Regions from separate parts of the Homo sapiens genome. Here all the other regions are linked to region 1. The links are contacts of gene promoters, found by promoter capture Hi-C in human tissues and cell types (Jung and others, 2019). All regions are on one chromosome and are shown on one strand. Each heading gives the region's core, a stretch centred on a gene start or on the middle of the fragment in contact. The rest is flanking DNA. Distances are from core to core; before and after follow the strand shown.

Region 1 (3,318 bases), core at 566-3,065:
CTCCTCGCCCCATGTGAATCTCCAGCCTCCGTCTCCCAAACTGCTAGGATTACAGGCGTGAGACACCGCGCCAGGCCCAAGTGGCATCATAAACCATCTCTAGGAAATCTAAAGGATTAATAATGATATTCACTTCTCTATCAGATTCACTGCAAAGATTTTTCTATATAAGCATAATGCAGCAACACTAACTTATATACACAATAATCTTCTCCATAGCAATGATTTGTCAGACATTAGGAAATCCTTTACATATTTAATATAATAATCCAATCCTTTATATCTTCAATAATCCAATCACAAAGTTCAAAAATATTAAGAGAAGTTATCATGCAACTCCTCACCCCAATTTTATTGCAAATTTTACTTTACTTTGACCTGATGTTCCATGCCCACAAGCTAGATAACAATGCGTCAAATATCTCGTTATCATTGCAAAGCAAAAAAATAAAACTTGCTTTAATATAAAACGGTAACTAGTATACAACCTGTAGTAGTTAAAACAATATAAAATTTTACTTAACCAGATATTGCACGTTAAACTCTAGGAACATTAACAGTGGAAACATTCTCCGCATCTAACAAATTACGAGATAAAGTATAGATCCGTTGAGAGGGAACTAACATTCTGACCTCCTTCCAAAACGACAAACTAGAACGGCAAAATTACACTCAGGCACATTGGAGTACTCTTCTCTCAAATCACTCCACAGAGAACTTCATCATTTGCTCCGCCCTCTAATAACTCATGCAAGAAAAGTTCAGCACCATCAGAGAGAAACAAGACAGAGAGAATTCATAGAATGGCTTTAGGGCCTTTCCTCCAGGCGGTAAGAGGATCTGCGTGTGTCCTTCGCAGGGGTCCAAAGGGAGAGAACCTAGGCCTAGGGTTTCGGGGATACCGACACCCAGAAACAGATTTTCTCTCAAAGAAGTTTCTGCCGCCATCCCTATCTTATCAGCAGGAGGCCCCGGCGCCATCGTCTCCGTCTTTATGATTTTATTATGGGGAGGTGGGAAACGCCACCCTGGATTCTTCCAGGCCTCCCCTATTCAGCTTGGGGGTTCCCCCTCATTCTTCCCTCAAAGCCTCAGTCCCTGAGGTCCTCCTCAGCACCCCCCGCTTCTGGCGGCCTGTCCCCCGTGAAGTGTAAAGGCACGGCCGAACCCACCGGCCTTGCCGTGAAGGCGGGAGGGCCCGAACCCGCCAGGGCCACGGCGATGGCTCCGAGGGGCCCAGAAAGGGGAAGGGCAGGCCGGGGACCGGGGCAGAATGACCTGGCCGGGGAAGAAAGGAAAAAAGGAGGTGAGGAGATGCACCGCACCGCAGGGCTGCACAGAGAAGGGAAGATGATGAAGGAGGAGGAGGAGGGCGGTGGCCCGGGTGCGGCCCCCTACTCCTCCCGCCCCCGGGTCCCCGGGCCGGCGGGGGCGGACGGACTCGGCCCATTCCCAGGTCTGGGCTGGCGGGGGGTTGGGGGATCTCCCTCCACGCTACTAGGAGACAGAGAACGAGGGTATCGGGAGCGGGGGGGGGCTGTCTCCCGCCTGAACCCGGAGACCCCGACGCCGTCGTCGCCTCTTCCTCAGGAGGGAGGACGGCAGCTGTGGGTAAAGCCCGAAGGAGGAATGCCTGAAGGTAAGGGGAAGCCCGGGGCAGACCCGCTGCCCGCTCCGGACCCCACTCTCCACCTTCCGGTAACCGCGTCTCTTACCGGTAATGGTGGTGAACTGTTGAATTAACCCCTTCAGCGCCGAGGACGCCGCGGAGCCCCCGTGGGCAGCCATCTTACCGCCGCCGCCGCCGCCGAACAACAACACAGACACACACGGACTGCCCTCCCCCACTTCGCCGTGCGGTGTGCGCAGGCGCATTGACCGCCCCTCGAGCCCCGCCCCTCCCGTCCCCAGCGGTCTGCGCAGGCGCATTTTCCGACCGGGCCCGCGCGCTCCCAGCTCTCGGGTTGGCTGCTCGGTTGCTGCCTGCTCAGTGCATCCTTTTTGCCATTGCTGGTGCCTTCCTCTCCGGGCTCCAAGGCTAGCCTCGCAGGCGCGGTGTCGATTCCTAGATTCCGAAGGAAGCTTCGGTCTCGGCAGATAGTTCTTCGCATTTCAGCTTCGCAAGCTTTATTGACAGAGCCAACTGCCGATGACAGCATTTTTCTGTTTTGCGGTTGTACCGCACTCTATTAGGTTTCCTGCAGGTCCCATCAAAATGCAAACCCTACCTCCTCGCTTTGAAGCGACTCTCCCCGTACTCGCCCCCCAGCCTCTAAACTAATGGCTTAGCTAACCGATTGCGACGAGTGAAATACCAGAACCCTTCATGCCAAAGAAAGCACTTAGCGCGGGGTTGCCACCCAGTAGGTTTTCATAAACGATTGTTTAGTCTGCTTTCCTTAAATAAATTGGCCATCACGTCTCCCGTTAGGGTCTTAATGAGACCCCAAGAGGCGTCATTTGTATAAAAAGAAACTCTGTATATGCAGTAGAGGAAAGAAAACATATAGAAAGGAGACTGGAAAAGTGTGCTCAAAACGCTGGTAACGGTTACCTCCAGAGAAGAGAACGATCGGGACGATGGTCAAAGCGGACCTTACTTCGAGTTTCTTATTTATCTTTTTATTTTTAAACAAACATTATTGGCCGGGCGCGGTGGCTCATGACTGTAATCCCAGCACTTTGGAAGGCCGAGGTGGGAGAATCGCTTGAGGCAAGGAGTTCGAGACCAGACTGGGAAATATATCAAGAATCCATCTCAAAAAAAAAAAAAAAAAAAAGATATTCGTGTGTTCCTTGAATAATTTTAAGTATTTTGCAAAACAGTTACATGAGTGGGGTGCGCTCAAATCCAATAATCCCCCACCTTGCCCATAAAGTTAAAAGAGATTCCAAGTGATTCCGTTTGTTTTAGCCTCCCACCTTCCAACCTCCACCCACATATTTTGCATCTTCATAGGAAAATGGCCCAATAAAAGATGGGATGAGCTGTCTGAAGAATTGACACATCCTAAGAGTAAACATGCTATTGGGGAGAATTAAGAAAGAGCCATGTCAAATCAAGGGGTATAGTTTTTTGTTTTGTTTTGTTTGACAGGGAGTCTCGCTCTGTCGCCCAGGCTGGAGTGCAGTGGTGCAATCTCAGTTTACTGAAAGCTCCGCCTCCCGGGTTCAAGCGATTCTCCTGCCTCAGCCTCCCAAGTAGCTGGGATTACAGGCACACGCCACCACGCCTGGCTAATTTTTGTATTTTTAATAGAGACGAGGTTTCACCATGTTGAGCAGGCTAGTCTCAAACTACTGACCTCAAGTGATCCA
Region 2 (3,318 bases), core at 402-2,901, 170 kb after region 1:
AGGAGGCGGAGGTTGCAGCGAGCCAAGATCACGCCACTGCACTCCAGCCTGGAGACAGAGCAAGACTCCGTCTCAAAAAAAAAAAAAAAAGAGTGGGAAAATGGGAGGCAATGCAGGTCTCTAAAGCTGTCCTGCTACTGCCCAGGAGGCCTTGTATGTAGGTCCAAATAAACTCATCTACTTGCCAAGCTGGACGTGTCTCAGTCATTCTTTGGTCTCTCAGCCTCCTCCTAGTTTGGGAAAAGGTTTTTTGTTTGTTTGTATTTTTTTAATACAATTCCAGGTTTTCTTTGTTATGTTTCTACATATCCATTGATCTATAAAGAAGGCTTAGCATTTTTTGCATATTTCTAAACCATATACAGGATATATACACATGCGTGTGTGCCACGAACCGTTTATGTCCTCCTGCAACTTCGTGTTCTTGTGATTTATCCATTCCTAAACATAGAACTGTTACTTCTTTTTTAATTGCTGTACAGCAGAGGTCCCCAAACCCCAGCACAGGTGCACAGCCTGTTAGGAAACTGCGTCACACGGCAGGAGGGGAGCAGCAGGCGGGTGAGCAAGTGAAGCTTCATCTGTATTGACAGCCGCTCCCCATCACTCGCATTACTGCTTGAGCTCCGCCTCCTGTCCGATCAGCGCCGGCACTAGATACTCATAGCTATGTGAACCCTATTGTGAACTGAGCATATGAGGGATCTAGGCTGCATGCTCCCTATGAGAATCTAATGCCTGATGATCCATCAGTGTTTCCCATCATCCCCAGATGGAACCGTCTAGTTGCAGGAAAACAAGTGCAGGGCTCCACTGATTCTACATTATGCTGAGTTGTATAATTATTTCATTATATCTTACAACGTAATAATAATAGAAATAAAGTGCACAATAAATGTGATGCACTTGAATCATCCCAAACCATCCCCCACCCCCAGTCCATGAAAAAATGGTCTTCCAGGAAACGGGTCCCTAGTGCCAGAAAGGTTGGGGACCGCTGCCGTACAGTATTCCATTTCACCAACATACTACCGTCTATCAATTCTTCTGTTCACGACCATTTAGGTTGTTTCCAATTTGTGATTACAAACAAAGCTGGAATGAATTCTGTATGTATGTGCTCTAGTCTCTAGAATATACATTATGAGAAGCGGCATTCTCAAGTTCTGGCTTATGCTCATCTCCGCCTTTGTTAGATATTGCCTCATTGTTCATCACCATCAATATTTCTGTTTATCAAGCAAGGGACGAGGGCAAGCAGCAAAAATAACACATGGTACAGGTATGTTTCAACCTGCAGGTGTGAGGGGATGCATATAGTGCCCAAGATTCTCACCATTTCATGGGGAAGAGTGCTTAGGCTAGGCATAGCTGGACACATCATGTGTTCTGTACAAGAGAGGGAATATAAAATTCCTTGTTGTCTCACGCATTTATAAAGTATTATGGAGGGCAGGCGCCGTGGCTCACGCCTGTAATCCCAACACTTTGGGAGGCTGAGGCAGGTGGATCACCTGAAGTCAGGAGTTCAAGACCAGTCTGGCCAACATGGTGAAACCCCGTCTCTACTAAAAATACAAAAATTATTCATGCGTGGTGGTGGGCACCTGTAATCCCAGCCACTCGGGAGGCTGAGGCAGGAGAACTGCTTGTACCTGGGAGGCAGAGCTCGCAGTGAGCCGAGATCACACCAATGCACTCCAGCCTGGGCAACAGAGCAAGACTCTGTCTCCAAAAAAAAAAAAAAGAATTATGGAGGAATCAGAGATCATCTGACCAAGGTGTCTTTGCAATTCAGGTTTCAGCCTTTCTGGCCTAAGAAATAATGTTAGAAACAACCCAATAATCCAGACAGTTTATACATGAGGGGGTTTGTGGCCCTCCCTGAAGAGCCAGCTTATTGCTAGGTTACCTGAAAAAAGACTCACAAGGGTCATCCACTTAACAAACTTGTTTATCCCTCTGCATTACACCTCTGGCCCTGGCGATTTATTAAACAGGCTTTCCGACCCAGGGCTTGTATTAGTTGACAACATCGTGACAAGTTTGCATCATGGGCCATGAAAGGCATAAAAGGTATTTTGAGGCTTCTGTCCATATCTGTAAAACAAAAGGAGAAATAGTCTTTAAAACATTTTTAATATAGGTTTTTAATCTATCTAGAATTTATTTTTGTTATGGAGAAAGTAGAAATTTCATTATTAAATACATACTGTTAATATTGTATCCTGCTCCTATTTATTGAATAGCTTATGCTTCCATTGATTTACAGTGCCTCCTCTGTCACATATCAAGTTTCCATATGTACATATACATGGGCCAGCTCCTGGACTGTCTGATTCTTTTGGCCTCTTTGTCTACACATAGGCTAGTACTATACACTCTTAGTTGTTCTCACTTTATAATCAATCTTAGGGTTTTTGTTTTGTTTTAGAGTCACGGTCTTGGTCTGTCACCCAGGCTGTGGTACAGTGGCATGGCCATAGCTCACTGTACCCTTGAACTCTTGGGCTCAAGAAATCCTCCCATCTCAGCCTCCCTAGTAGCTGGGACTTCAGGTGTGCACCATGACACCTGGTCAATCCTTTTTATAGATCTTTTATAATGTTTTAAATAAGCTTTTTTCTAGGGCTGGAGTCTCACTATGTTGCCAAGGCTGAGCTCGTATTCCAGATCTCAAGTGATCTTCCTGGGATCGTAGGCTGGGATTACAGGCATGAGCCCTGTGATCACGGCTCACCGCAGCCTCTGTCTCCTGGGCCCAACTCCTGATCTTGAACTCCTTGGCTCAAGTGATCCTCCCACCTCAGCCTCCCAAGTAGCTGGGACTACATGCACACACCACTATGCTGGCTAATTTTTTTGCATTTTTTTGTACAGACAGGGTTTCACCACATTGCCCAGGGTGGTCTTGAACTCCTGGGCTCACGCAATCCGCCTGCCTTGGCCTCCCAAAGTGCTGGGATTACAAGCATAAGCCAGGGTGCCCAGCCCCAGTCTTCATTTTGAAAGAGCAATTCCCTCAAACTTTTGGTTTTAAAAAATTGTTTTGGTTATTCTTGGCCCTTTACTCTTCTATATAGATTTTAGAACGTACCTTGTGAAGTCACCTGGAAGTTCTGTTGGGATTTTTATTGAAAATTGAAAATATAAATCAATATGCATGTTGAATCAATAGACTTGGGAAGAATTGGTATCTTTATGATGAAATGCATTCTCATCCATGACTGTAGCATATCTTCATCATCTTTTATGTCATTCAATATTGTCTTTGAAGATCCAATAAAAAGATAGGGTTCTCTGCTTGGGTTTGGCCCC
Region 3 (3,318 bases), core at 608-3,107, 160 kb before region 1:
GTGTGGAGGAAAGCTTTAGGAAGGGTAGCAAGCTGAGATGGGATAGGCAGTGTGGAATGGGGTCTTTCATCTAAGGTTTGGCAATAATTAGGAAATACAAAGATAATTTTCCAGAGATAAAGGAGCATAAGGTAGGCATAAACGGAAAAAGGTTCTCATCTAAGATACAACTAGTAACAGGATGGAGGAATGATAGAGGGAGAAAAAACAGCAGAAAAGACGCACTAGACACCATGAGATGATACGAAGATCAAATCACTGCCTAGAGCCCCAATTTTTCTATTTCATTAGTTTTATTTATTTGTTTATTTACTTTTTATTTTTATTTTTGAGATAGGGTCTGTCTCTGTTGCCCAGGCTGGAATGCAATGGTGCAATCTCGGCTCACCGCATCCTCCGCCTCCCGAGTTCAAGCAATTCTCATGCCTCAGCCTCCCAAGCAGCTGAGATTACAGGCATGCGCCACCACGCCCGGCTAATTTTGTATTTTTAGTAAAGACAGGGTTTCACCAGGCTGGTCTCAAACTCCTGACCTCAGGTGATCCTCCCACCTCAGCCTCCCAAAGTGTGGGATTACAGGTATGAGTCACCGCACCTGGCCATATTTCAATAGTTTCAGCCTAATACACATGCAACTTCCATATTTTCCTAACACTTCTTTTTCTAAACCCAATGTAAAGCTTCTACAACTGAGCTGTGAGTCATAATCCAGTAAAAAGGCAGCAGATTTCCAGTGACTGTGAAAATACACTTACTATTCCTTCTTTTCATTATTTCAGAAGACATGTAACACTGATATCATCAATGTCATATCGGTTTCTACCCTCCCCCTGCCAGGTTAATCTCCACTTACCACTGCACAGCGCTGCACTTTGGAAGGAACCCCATCTTCTTCTGTTGCCCCGTTGGGTCCGGGCGCCTCTTTTCTCCTCTTCCTTGCATTGACCTTGGCTGAACACTGTGCATCCATCTTCTTTTAACTGGTCATAGAAAGTGAAAACAAAAATTTTCTCATTGGGGTGGGAAAAAGTTTGTCACCAGTATTTCAGAGACGTTGACGTGGATACACTCAGCAAAATACCAATTCTACAGCTGCACTTCACCAAGATGAGCCAATGGCATCTGGCAAAACCAGCGAAGCTTCACAAAACACAGGCTCTAGTAGAAATACTGAAACGCCTCTCTGTGCAACAATGGCCACAGTGAATTGCCTGAAGTCGGAAGTCATTCCCCCTCACAGTGCAGCCTACATACTAACTGCTCATTTTAAATCCTGATTGCATGCAAAAGATTGGAATAATTTGGCTGAGAAAGATAGTTACACAGACTCTCCCACTATCCTCCGCATCATCGATATGACAGGTATAAGGCAATGTGAAGGTATGACTGGTGCAGGTAGAGAAAAGAGCCTTTTGTAAACGGATGGCTCTCACCAAGTCCTGGATTAACAAAACACGGATTTCTTAACTCTAATTTTTTTTAAGACGGGGTCTCACTCTGTTGCCCAGGCTGGGGTGCAGTGGTATGATCTTGCCTCACTGCAGCTTCAACCTCGTTAGCTCAAGCGATCCTCTTGCCCCAGCCTCCCAAGTAGTTGGGACTACAGGCACATGCCACCACACCTAGTTATTTTTTTTTTTAAGAGACAGGCCTCGCTATGTTGCCCAGGCTGGTCTTGAATTCCTGGCCTCAAGTGATCCTCCCAACTCAAACTCCCAAAGACTTGGGATGACAGGCATGAACCACATCACTGAGTGAATTTCTTAACTCTAAAAGTTCTATAGATTTCAGTGACCACTTCACCAGAGTTACTTGCATGAAAATTGTGGAGTAGCATAATGGTTTTTATTTACTTTTTTATTGTTTTTATTTTTTTAGGGGTCTTGCTAGGTTGTCCAGGCTGGAGCGCAGTGGCTACTCACAGCCATAATCATAGCACACTGTAGCCTCAAACTCCTGAGCTTAAGCAATCCTCCCATCTGAGCCTCCAGAATAGCTAGGACCAGCATAATGTATTTTTTAAATGTCCTTCTCCTTCTTTCCTTTTTTTTTTTTTGAGAAAGAGTCTCACTGTGTCACCCTGGCTAGAGTGCAGTGGCACGATCTCGGCTCTCACAGCCATAATCATAGCACACTGTAGCCTCAAACTCCTGAGCTTAAGCAATCCTCCCATCTGAGCCTCCAGAATAGCTAGGACCAGCATAATGTATTTTTTAAATGTCCTTCTCCTTCTTTCCTTTTTTTTTTTTTTGAGAAAGAGTCTCACTCTGTCACCCTGGCTAGAGTGCAGTGGCACGATCTCGGCTCTCACAGCCATAATCATAGCACACTGTAGCCTCAAACTCCTGAGCTTAAGCAATCCTCCCATCTGAGCCTCCAGAATAGCTAGGACCAGCATAATGTATTTTTTAAATGTCCTTCTCCTTCTTTCCTTTTTTTTTTTTTTGAGAAAGAGTCTCACTCTGTCACCCTGGCTAGAGTGCAGTGGCACGATCTCGGCTCTCACAGCCATAATCATAGCACACTGTAGCCTCAAACTCCTGAGCTTAAGCAATCCTCCCATCTGAGCCTCCAGAATAGCTAGGACCAGCATAATGTATTTTTTAAATGTCCTTCTCCTTCTTTCCTTTTTTTTTTTTTTGAGAAAGAGTCTCACTCCGTCACCCTGGCTAGAGTGCAGTGGCACCATCTCGGCTCACTACAACCTCCGCCTCCCAGGTTCAAGCGATTCTCCTGCCTCAGCCTCCTGAGTAGGTGGGATTACAGGCACCCACCACCACGCCTGGCTAATTTTTTGTATTTTTAGTAGAGACAGGGTTTCCCTATGTTGGCCAGGCTGGTCTCGAACACCTGACCTCGTGATCCACCTGCCTCGTCCTCCAAAAGTGCTGAAATTACAGGCGTGAGCCATGGCGCCTAGCCAATTTTTGTATTTTTAGTAGAGACAGGGTTTTGTCATGTTGGCCAGGCTGGTCTTGAACTCCTGACCTCAGGTGATCCACCCACCTCGACCTCCCAAAGTGCTGGAATTACAGGTGTGAACCACTGCACCTGGCCCTTCCCCTTCTTTTCTCAGTACTCATTTCCCTTTCCTCTTTCAGGGTCTTAACACCTCAAGCTTGTTCACAGTTTCCAGCTATTAAAACCCCCTCAGGGATTCTCCTTCCCCCAAAGGAACTTATTTATTATTGTCTCATTTAGCAGAGAGTTTCTAGCAACTAGCTATTACAGCAAAGTTCTGAATATTCTGTATTTCATGTTTAAGTCACAGAATACTTGGGGTGTCACTTCGCTAGCCAGAAACCTCTGTGGCCAGTG
Region 4 (3,318 bases), core at 465-2,964, 130 kb after region 1:
TTGCATTCAGGCAGAGGACAGGAGAAGAATGCCCACCCGTCCACTTGACTGCCATAATGGTCCCGGAGACTCTGTGAAGTGGGGGAAACAACTGTAATCTCATGTTTTATACATCGACTTGATGGGAGGAGACAGATGTAATAAACAATATTTCATCTTTTAAAATGTTTTAAAAATACATCTTAAAAAAACTCAATTAATTAAAAAAAAAAAAGACACTTAAAGATCACATCTCCAAAAGCCTAGCTGAACACAGGGTTGTATCCTGGCTGGCAAATACTTCAGTGGGCTTCCTTTGCCATCAGGGATCTAGGTAAGGCCAGTCCTCCAGTCTTTCATATGGAACCCACAGAAGAATAAACACTACATATTTTAAATTAAGAAAAATTATTTTAAAGAGAGGGCTGCAAAATCATCAGGTTATGCCTCTTATCTGAATAATGTTTTAGATGGTGAGCTCTGCAGCTAGGCTCTCCAGGTTTGCAGTAGCTAGGGGACTGGGCAAATTACTGAACCTGTCACCCACTTTTCTTCTCTATAAAATGAGGATAATAATGACACTCATTTCATAGGATCATAATATATGTAAATCACACATAATAGTGCCTGATACATAATGAATCCTCAACAAGCATTGCTATTGTTACTTTTTCGATTTTTATTAGGCCGGTGCAAAGCGGCATTACATACACTGCACCAGTACTCTCAAAGTGTGGTCTCCACACTAGCAGCATCAGCATCCCCTAGGAACTTGTCAGAAATGCAAATTGTCAGACCCAACCCTAGATCTACTGAATCTGAAAATGGGGGTGAGACCAAGCAGTGTGTTTTTGTTGTTGTTGTTTTGTTTTGTTTTCTGAGATGGAGTCTCGCTGCCGTTAGCCCGGGCTGGACTGCAATGGATGATCTCGGCTCACTGCAACCTCCGCCTCCCGGGTTCCAGCAATTTTCCTGCCTCAGCCTCCCGAGTAGCTGAGATAACAGGCACCCGGCACCATGCCTGGCTAATTTTTGTATTTTTAGTAGAGACGGGGTTTCACCATGTTGGCCAGGCTGGTCTCAAACTCCTGACCTCAGGTGATCCACCCACCTTGGCCTCCCAAAGTGCTGGGATTATAAGCGTGAGCCACCACGCCCGGCTGCAATGTGTTTTAGTAAGTCCTCCAGGTGATCCTGATGTACAGTGGAATTGCAGAATCTGTATTAAACTAATGACCACCTGGGGAAATGGTGAAAATGGCAGGCCCTTGGTCTCCCCACCAGACACTTATTCAGTAGGTTATCTAATTTTATCTCAAAACAACCCTTTTGATTGGTATTATTCCATTTTAGGGATAATAAAACCGAGTCTCAGAAATGTTAAATAATTTTCCCAAGGTCACTTGACTCTTAGGATTTGTAACAGATCCCAAATGTTTTGTTTTTGTTTTGAGACAGGGTTTTGCTCTGTCACCCAGGCTGCAGTGCAGTGGCACAATCGTGGCTCACTGCAGCCTTGACCTCCCAGGCCTAAGCAATCCTCCCACCTCAGTCTCCTGAGTAGCTCAGACCACTTATGTGCACCACCATGCCTGGCTAATTTTTATTTTATTAAATTTTTTTTTGCAAAGTCGGGGTCTCCCTATGTTGCCCAGGCTCCAAATATTTAAATAATGAAGGTCCTTTTCTAACAACTCCACCTGACAACAGTTTTGTTATTATTCTTTGAAGAAACAGAAAATGACCAAAAGTTACTAGTAAGTCATCAGTGCTTGAAAATGTACTCACATATGTTTAATCATATTATCATCTACCTGCACTTACACAACAGTGTAAAATTTAGATTTCTCATCCTCTAGGAATCCCAGATATACACACACTGGAAATGCCACATAATACCGGCCTGCCGTGCCCGCCTGCTGGTCAAGGCAAAAAGGAAATCAGGGCAATTTATACAACTCTAATCTTGGTCAAGACAAAAGGAAGCAAATAAATCTACCTGGACAAATTTAATTTTTCATTTCATAAGCGAAAGGAGAGCTTACCCGAGTGCCAGCCCCCAGAGCTGTTGTGCTATTTTCAGATAAGATACTTGAATTTAGCCCAGTGGTACAGAGATAAAATCATTTAAAATAATCTGGCAATCTGCCCAAAGTTTCCATTCCCAACACAAAGCTTTTTTTTTTTTTTGAGACGGAGTCTTGCTCTGTCGCCCAGGTTGGAGTGCAATGGCACAATCTCAGCTCTCTGCAACCTCTGCCTCCTATGTTTAAGCGATTCTCCTGCCTCAGCCTCCCAAGTAGCTGAGATTATAGACGCCTGCCACCACGCCAGGCTAACTTTTCCATTTTTAGTAGAGACAGGGTTTCACCATGTTGGCCAGGCTGGTCTTGAACTTCTGACCTTACATGATCCACCCACTTCAGCCTCCCAAAGTGCTGGGATTATAGGCGTGCGTCACCGCACCCAGCCTCCCCCTACTTTTAGTCACACATACGATCACTAATTAGACTGCAAAAAAATCACTGATCTATTAGTAATCAAGGTAACGGAAACGTGATCACAAAATCAAATACAGAAATGTTCATAAAAATAACAAAATAAAAAACAAAATTAAACTTTTGTTTTCAAGCAGAAGCACTCAACTAATATACAGAGGAAACTAACTGGAGACTGAAGCAATAATATTTAAAGGAGAGAATTGGAGAGGAAATGACTCAGAGGGAGGTAAAAACAGGGAGCCCTGGTGGTTTGATTTTTGCTGACAAGTACTGAAACAGCAGCAGGTAAATATGCCGTAACGAAGACTGTTGCCAAAAGTTCCAGATAAACCTAGATTTTAAACGAAAGGCACTGATAGTATTTAGGCTTAGGAACTGTAATACTGACTTACCTCATGATAAAGATGCTATCCTACAAATTTGAATTGAGTATTGAAAAGTCAATTTAAGTTACAAATAATTTTGTTTAACGATTTCAATTTTTTTTCTTTTTTCTTTTTTTTTTTTTTTTGAGACAGGGTCTTGCTCTGTCATGCAGGCCTTGACCTCCCCAGGCTCAAGTGATCCTCCCGCCTTAGCCTCCTGAGTAGCTGGAACTACAGGCTCTCACCACCAAACCCACCTAATTTTTTGTATTTTTTTTGTAGAGATGAGGTTTCCCCACATTCCCCAGGCTGTTCTTGAACTCCTGGGCTCAAGTGATCCTCCCGTCTCAGCCTCTCAAAGTGCTGGCATCACAGGCATGAGCCACTGCACCCAGCCAATGCTTTCAAATCTTTAGAATGTCGATCACTTTTTTGCCAAGTTATAGTTTTAATTTTGCTATGATGAATCAACT

Evidence for each region. Contacts are between HindIII fragments. The study calls those that stand out against the background at their distance.
Region 2: a fragment that was not itself captured here is called in contact with the fragment with the promoter of UBXN7 in region 1 in 1 of the 25 tissues and cell types used here (aorta).
Region 3: a contact is called between a fragment that was not itself captured here and the fragment with the promoter of UBXN7 in region 1, in 8 of the 25 tissues and cell types used here (H1 embryonic stem cells, IMR-90 fibroblasts, bladder and 5 more).
Region 4: a fragment that was not itself captured here is called in contact with the fragment with the promoter of UBXN7 in region 1 in 1 of the 25 tissues and cell types used here (IMR-90 fibroblasts).

What each region holds. Positions count from the first base shown.
Region 1 is chr3:196,430,612-196,433,929 of GRCh38, forward strand. It overlaps UBXN7 (UBX domain protein 7), which reads right to left and starts at 1,816. Exons shown (of 11, transcript NM_015562.2): 1 at 1,716-1,816. The coding sequence starts at 1,788. It overlaps UBXN7-AS1 (UBXN7 antisense RNA 1), which reads left to right and starts at 774. Exons shown (of 2, transcript NR_046745.1): 1 at 774-830; 2 at 1,591-2,423. RefSeq lists enhancers at 573-1,347, 924-973, 1,348-2,121, 2,054-2,133 and silencers at 1,684-1,743, 1,764-2,013. The HindIII fragment of the contact is 10,299 bases long and covers 1-3,216 here.
Region 2 is chr3:196,604,196-196,607,513 of GRCh38, forward strand. No RefSeq gene overlaps it. Among named protein-coding and RNA genes, the nearest start is that of LINC01063, 27 kb to the right of the region's middle. The HindIII fragment of the contact is 4,213 bases long and covers 1-3,318 here.
Region 3 is chr3:196,269,562-196,272,879 of GRCh38, forward strand. PCYT1A (phosphate cytidylyltransferase 1A, choline) reads right to left here. Exons shown (of 9, transcript NM_001312673.2): 2 at 854-980. The coding sequence starts at 970. Among named protein-coding and RNA genes, the nearest start is that of PCYT1A, 17 kb to the right of the region's middle. The HindIII fragment of the contact is 3,023 bases long and covers 347-3,318 here.
Region 4 is chr3:196,561,421-196,564,738 of GRCh38, forward strand. WDR53 (WD repeat domain 53) reads right to left here. Exons shown (of 4, transcript NM_182627.3): 3 at 1-71. The coding sequence starts at 55. Among named protein-coding and RNA genes, the nearest start is that of WDR53, 5.5 kb to the right of the region's middle. RefSeq lists an enhancer at 1,706-2,905. The HindIII fragment of the contact is 7,147 bases long and covers 1-3,318 here.